2 separate regions of the Homo sapiens genome follow, and region 1 is linked to region 2. The links are contacts of gene promoters, found by promoter capture Hi-C in human tissues and cell types (Jung and others, 2019). All regions are on one chromosome and are shown on one strand. The core of a region is centred on a gene start or on the middle of the fragment in contact, and the rest is flanking DNA. Distances in the headings are between cores, read along the strand shown. Region 1 overlaps HSDL2 (hydroxysteroid dehydrogenase like 2). Region 2 holds the start of PTBP3 (polypyrimidine tract binding protein 3).

Region 1 (3,602 bases), core at 225-2,724, 140 kb after region 2:
TTGATTTAGCTGAAGGACACCCAGATGTCTGTATCTGTGTTTTTGGACGGGCTGTTCTGTTCCTTCCAGAATAAAGATCTTTCAGTATCCTCCATGTAAATAAAAGTTACCCCTTCATTTATTATTTGTAAGTATTGGGATTTTAACATCACACTGTCTTAAAGTAGGACACAGCTCAGTTTATTCATTAAAATAAAAGAGTTGGACTTGATCCTTTCTACCTATAATAACTCCATGAGGCTTTGCTATAACCTCTATTTAGAATAATTTAAAGGCATTTAATAGCTTAATATAATATATATATAATATATTAACTCACACACTTTCTCTGCAAAGAACCTGTGTGGGGCACAGGGGTGGGGAGGGTGGCTACTAAGCTACTAATAAACCAAACACATATTGTGCCTTCTAGAAGATATGTCATCTATATCAATTAGCATAATGTAAGACAGAAAATCATAAATGAGGCTGGGCCAGATGGCTCACATCTGTAATCTCAGCACTCTGGGAGGCAGGTGGATCACTTGAGACCAGCCTGGGCAACATGGCAAAACCCCATCTCTATAAAAAATTAGCCCTGCATGGTGTTGCTTGCCTGTAGTCCAGCTACTCAGGAGGCTGAGGTGGGAGGTTCAGATGAGCCTGGGAAGTCAAGGCTGCAGTAAGCCATGTACTCCACTGTACATGTACTCCAGCCTGGGAGACAGAGTGAGACCTTGTCTCAAAAAAAAAAAAAAAAAAAAAAAGGAAAAAAAGTCATAAATGAAAGGCAGACATACCTGGCTTTAAATTGCAGCACTGCCTCATACAAGCTGTGTGACCTTGAGCAAGCCAAAATCCTTTTTGAGTCTGTTTCCTCATTAATTCCACTATGTGATAGACCCCGTACTGACACTGGAATAAGAGTAGCAGATAACAAATGTACTTCTCTCCATGGAGCTCATATTTATTACATGTTGTTATTAGGTACAATTCTATTTTAATGCTTACATTTTTTTATACCCTGGCATTTCTGTGGTTAAAGTAATGCTAACACATATTTTGTGTCCATACACTATACTTTTAATGATCATTTCTTAAGACTATTTTGTTCATTTACACCATTTGGTTTTTTGAACTTGAAATGTCAAAAGTTTAATGAACTATCGTAAGTTGGAAAATTAACTAAAATAGACAGTATTTGTTTACCAGAATTCATTTGAGGGCCGTGTATCCTTTAGTGTATAAAAATCTTTTTGGTGTAAAAACATTTGCTATAATCTTTTGCTGATTGTTGTTTTTATGCTAGCTCTTAATAGGATATTGTTAACATCTAAGTCTAGGAATTGGGATTCCCAAGATACTGATATAAAATGCTGTAACAGAAATTTCTATGCTTCTGAGGTTTATAGAACTCAAGGAGATTCTTTTTACAATGCGTGTTCTTAAAGCAATATATCCCTAAGGGCACTAATGGTTGCTTTTCCCTCTCTCATTTTCTCATTTTAGGGAAACTAAAACCAACAATGGCATTCATGTCAGGGAAATTGAAGATTAAAGGTAACATGGCCCTAGCAATCAAATTGGAGAAGCTAATGAATCAGATGAATGCCAGACTGTGAAGGAAAATATAAAAAAAAAGTCGACTGCTATGCTCAAAAAGTAAAAAAAGCTCAACAGTTAAAATCTAATGTTTGTTTTCTTTCCTGTTATATTATAAGGATATGCACGTTTGTTCTGGAAAAGATAGAATTTGTCTCTAAAAGACTTGAAATTGTAATTAAAATGGCAAGCTAATCAAACATAAGCTTCATTAAGTGGGATTCTAAGACAGTCTGTGTTTTTATATTTCAAGGGTTTAACCCTTTGAGCCTTACATCTCATTCACTGTCTTTCTCCAAGAAAAGTATTTTGGGCGGACAGTCAGATCAAGCAGTAAAATTAGCTCTTTCAAATCTTCTTGTCATGTAAAATGAAGCTAGTCTGTTTTAAAATTTTTAGTTTTGGATTGTATACTAATGAAAATCTTAATGATGTTTTTGATTTTTATATACTTATTTTAAAGAAAATCTTATATAGTACATTTTACAAAAATTATAAAAAATGAATTAGTACTGGCGAGGACTAAATGAAACAATAATTTTTCATTTTGATAACTAGCTTTCCAGGTGGACTTAGCCATAGGAAAATATTACTAATGTAATTTAACAAATTGCTGCATGTATTCCATTTAAAAATATGTTTAAATTGTCCTAAAACAAAATAATTTTCTCCCTAGGAGTATGCATTTGGCTACAGTGTTTTGAAACAGAAACCTTAGAATAGGTCATTGGTATGGGCTGAACTGTGTATCCCCCAATTCATTTGTTGAGGTCCTAACTCCCATTTCTTTTGAATGTGACTGTTCGGAGATGAGGCCTTTAAAGAGGTGACTTAAGTTCAAAGGAGGCTGTTAGTCTAATCCAACATGGTGTCCTTTGGACATAAGAGATACCAGCAATGTGTGCACAGAACAAAGACCAGGAGAGGACACAGTGAGAAGGCAGTTATCTGCAAGCAAAGAGAGAGGCTTCAGAAGAAACAAAATCACCAGCACCTTGATCTTTGACTTCTAATCTCCAGAATAGTGAGAAATAAATTTCTGTTGTTAAGCCGTCCACTGTGGGAGGCCGACGCAGGAGGATTGCTTGAGGCCAGGAGTTCAAGGCCAGCCTGGACAACATAGTAAGACCCTATCTCTACCCCCCTAATAAATTAATTTAAAAAGCCCCCCAATCTGTGGTATTTTATTATGGCAGCCCTAGCAAGCTAATACAGTGGTTTGAGAGGCTGGGAGGGTTGAGGGGAAGATAAACTTTTAAAAAGCTCTTATCTTTCATTTCAATCAGTTAAAAATACTTGCTCAGTGTAACAATTTTGCTTCTCAGCTTCCACTCTAATATTGTTGTGCCATTAAGCAATTTAGCTAATCCTGACATTTCTTAGATTCATAATGTTAGGAGCATTTAATCTGTATTTTACAAGTTAGGAAGCAGAGGATCAGAGATGGGAAAGGACTAGCCCAAGGCCAACATTAACAAGCCCTCTAACAAAAACTTTACAATACATTTATGTTGAATGGAACTCCAAGATCTCACCTCTCCATCCAGGAATGGAGTCCATGTAATCAAAGTGAACTTAAAAATAGGACAGTTTCAACAAGTCAGGAGATTCACAGCAACTGATCAAAGGGAGTCCAGTCAACGTGAGCAAGCGTGATTATGATGAGGAAGCCCCCTCTGCTTTAATCCACACAAGGAACGTAACCTGAAGTAACCTGATGTTAACCAATCTGCTGTGTCTACTATGCTGTTTCCTTGTTCCTGCTAGTGCTGCTTTACAAATGCAGACCATTCTATCATACCTGGCGGGGCTTCTGTTTTATTTTGTAGGCTGGATGCTACCCAGTTCATGAATCGCTAATAAAAGCCAATTAGATCTTTACATAATTTGTTGAGATTTTATTCTTTGACATTCTTAAAGGTTTGGGAAAATTAGAGGTAGAACATACCGTGAGGCAGCAATCTCTGGGTTCTGGTCATTAAAATATGAATTTGCTAATTATACCTATCCCAACAGGGGGA
Region 2 (3,430 bases), core at 347-2,846:
ACGACCACAAAATTTTTCAACATATAAAATGCAACTGAATAAGGTAATGTGAAATAAGTTTTCAACAATGTTCTCGAAGAAACTTCAATCAAACAATAAAAACAGCTTCAATTCCCCCCCAAAATATATACACCTACTGTGTACCCAAAAAAGTTATAATTTTAAGAAATTTTTTGAAGCTTCAATCAAATAAAAATAAAGAACATCACAATCATGAATAAAATCTAAAACTCCACTTTGATGTCTGTAGCAGTGTGCAATCTGCATTCAAATGAATCAATCCGAAATGTCATATACACTTAATATTGTGAAACTAAAATAAATGAAATCTAATGAGGTCAAAAGCTGTTGGAAGATTTCATCTTCAAATAGCATATCATCAACTGTATGGCAACATGTGAACGACTTTTACTGTTCTAGCAAGTTGCATATATTCCACAACCTCACAGAAATCTTGTCATCAAAAGTAGGTAACAAGCTAAAAAAAACCTCAAATACATAATGGGAATAAACCGAGTTGGAGATTTTTTTTTAATCCGTAGGTACAGATACTACAACCTTCAATTAATTCACCAAAATCCTAACATAGTTGTTACTTTAATTACCAAAATATGTCAAGTCCCACCCCATATCCCTGAGTCCCCAGAGAACAGTTTATATACATAGACTCTAAATCTTTTTATTTTGGTCACGGACCCCCATTAAATTTTTGAGCATTTGAAATGCCCCCGAAAATCGCTCGTACATCATATTTTACATACACGGGCAGATAATTCATTAAGTTTCTTGGGGAGAGAGAAAGGTGAGGGGGAAGCGTCCATGGTCACTAAGTCCAGACCCCTGGTGTCGAGAAAGCGTTAACGTATCTCACAGCACAAGTCGGGAGACCTCGGCCAAGTCCCGCGGCGGCCCTGGGACCCCGCGTGGGACCATGGCTTGCGACCAGGTCGCCGCCCAGACGTGTACCGACGCGTGCACCCGCCGTCGGCCGCTCGCCCCACCTCGCCGGTAAACAGCAACTCCCCCGGCAGGAGGACGCCCGCCCCGCGCGCCGCCTCCGCCTCCCCCAGCGCCGCGCACCATTTTCTGAGAGGAAGTGTCGGGAGGCCGAGCTGGGCTCCCCGGACTCGGGGCGCGGAGGGCGGACCTCGGCACCGCGGCCGGACCGGGCTTTCCTCTGCTCCCGGGTGTGTCGAGTAAGGCTAGGAAGCAGCGGACGTGTCCGGGGCGCCGCGTGGGGAAAGGAGAGCCTGCGGCGGACGGCAACTCCGCGATTCCGGGATCCCCACCGAGACGCCCGGAAGCCCCGCCGTCGGGCTTGGCCGGGGCCGCTCCTCCGGCCGCCGGCGCCGCGCACTGCTCCCCAGCCCTTACGCGTCCCGCGGAGAGCCGGGTGGAAGCGGCGCCAAGGCAACCCGGTGCGGCCGCCGCGCCGCCTAGTACTTACCCATCCATGGCCCAGATGGAGGCGCGCACAGAGCAGGGACTGACGGGCTAACCGCGAGCAGAGGAAGCAGGCGGCGGCAGCAGGGCGGTTCCGGGGACAAGCGAGCTTTGGCTCTGCGGAGCCCCGGCCGGTCCGAGGTGGAAGGAGAGTGGGAACAGGGGCGGGGACCGGGCACGCTCCCGCCACCGCCGCGCCCCCGCCTTCCCCACCCCGCGAGCGCGTCCCCGCCTAGCCCGACCCCGCCCCCTCACCGTCCCCGCCCTCCCTCGGGGCCCGCCCCTGCGCTCGCGCCCACCCTCGCCCCGCTGGCAGCCGGCCTCCGGCTCAGCTCTGGGGCGCCCTCTTCCCGCGGTCGCTGTAAGACCCCGCCTCTCGGCCCCTCGGCCCGGCGCGCGCGCGCGCCCCCAGCCTCCCTCCTGCGTTCGCGGGAGCGCGCGCCTTGTGCTTCCCGCTCCGCCGCGCACCCCGCCCGCCCTCCCGCGGCCCCGCGGGCCTTCCGGCTTCGCAGACCGGGCCTGCCAGGTTTGAATGCCTCCCTCTGCCGGCAGGAAAAGCTATGGGGACCTGACTCCCAAGAGTAGGAAGGAATGTCCCACAAGGACCCCAGAAACGAGGTGGAATTGCCCCGGGTGCGCGAGGCTGTAGATGACACGTCCAGGGACCAGCCTCTGGCAGCCCGGCGCTGGAGTCGACCGCTGGGACCGACACCAGCCCCATAGGTGTGGCTGGGACGATGAATGAGGTGAAAGAGGCTGCCCGGACTGGAATTTGTATACAATTTAAGTATCTGAGTGCATTTCGACCTAACCGTCTAGTATTGAATTTATATGAAAAATTCATTGTACAAACATGGAATGGCTATATTCCCAGCATTTTTTAAAAGTTTACTCATTATTCCCTTTTTTCAGATGAAAATACATATACAAAGAGAGTGATTTGCTCACAGTTTCACAACCAGGAAACGTTTGCACCAGAGCCCTTCCCTCTGGTCTGAGCAAAAAGTATATATATAATATAACGAGTGACAACACGCTTGCTTTTTTCCCTTTTTAGTGAGAAATTGAGTACTTTTTCAACTCACAGATCACCAAAATGTAACCCCCTAAACTGTTAAGCCAAATTCTTAACCTACTGAGTAAAAAAGAGCGGGGCTCCTCCCCGTGGCTTCGTCATTTGAAAAGCAACTAACAAGAACCTCAAACATCTATCCTTGCTAATTTCCTGCTTTCAGATCAGTAGGTGCTGCTAAAAAGATCTAAACTGTGGACTCATTCATCATTCAGTCAGTATTAACCTACTATGTGCCGGGCACTGCATGAATACACAAGAAAATCAGGTTCCAGCCGTCACTGTTGAATGGATTCTTCAGTCCGTTTATGTATATTTTTGACATACAACTTTTCAAATAGGTAGAGTAATTCGGTGAGGTAATTCTTAAAGTCCTGTATCTAACCTCAGTCCCCTTCCAAAATGTCAAATACATTTTGTTTTGTATATTAAATCTAAATATTAAGTTGCATTTGTAAACATTGCCAGATGGAAATGTAGAATATCAACAAGATAAGTAGCTGATGCAGTCTTTCTATCACTGTATTTGGGATATATTCTGTTGATGAAATTTCCTTAACCCTTTTTTTAGCTACACAAGTAATATCAGCATAAATGCTCATTTTGGAAAATTCAAGCACTATAAAATATTGAAAAGTTATCATTAATATTTTTCTTCCCAAACCACCCCCTGCCCATGACTACCACTGTAACAATTCTGCGTGCATCCTTCTGGACCTTACTTTTTTTTGTTGTTTGTTTTTTTGTTTTTTTGTTTTTTTGTTTTGAGACGGAGTCTTGCTCTGTCTCCCAGGCTGGAGTGCAGTGGCACAATCTGAGCTCACTGCAACCTCTGCCTCCCGAGTTCAAGTGATTCTCCTGCCTCAGCCTCCTGAGTAGCTGCGATTACAGGCGCCCGCCACCACGCCTGGCTAG

The links. Contacts are between HindIII fragments. The study calls those that stand out against the background at their distance.
Region 1: a fragment that was not itself captured here is called in contact with the fragment with the promoter of PTBP3 in region 2 in 1 of the 25 tissues and cell types used here (IMR-90 fibroblasts).

The regions. Positions count from the first base shown.
Region 1 is chr9:112,468,944-112,472,545 of GRCh38, forward strand. HSDL2 (hydroxysteroid dehydrogenase like 2) reads left to right here. Exons shown (of 11, transcript NM_032303.5): 11 at 1,489-3,462. The coding sequence ends at 1,601. It overlaps HSDL2-AS1 (HSDL2 antisense RNA 1), which reads right to left. Exons shown (of 5, transcript NR_171779.1): 3 at 780-894. Among named protein-coding and RNA genes, the nearest start is that of KIAA1958, 16 kb to the right of the region's middle. The HindIII fragment of the contact is 3,336 bases long and covers 1-3,142 here.
Region 2 is chr9:112,332,023-112,335,452 of GRCh38, forward strand. PTBP3 (polypyrimidine tract binding protein 3) reads right to left here and starts at 1,597. Exons shown (of 14, transcript NM_001163788.4): 1 at 1,448-1,597. RefSeq lists silencers at 962-1,451, 1,602-1,921 and an enhancer at 1,671-2,641. The HindIII fragment of the contact is 19,118 bases long and covers 1-3,430 here.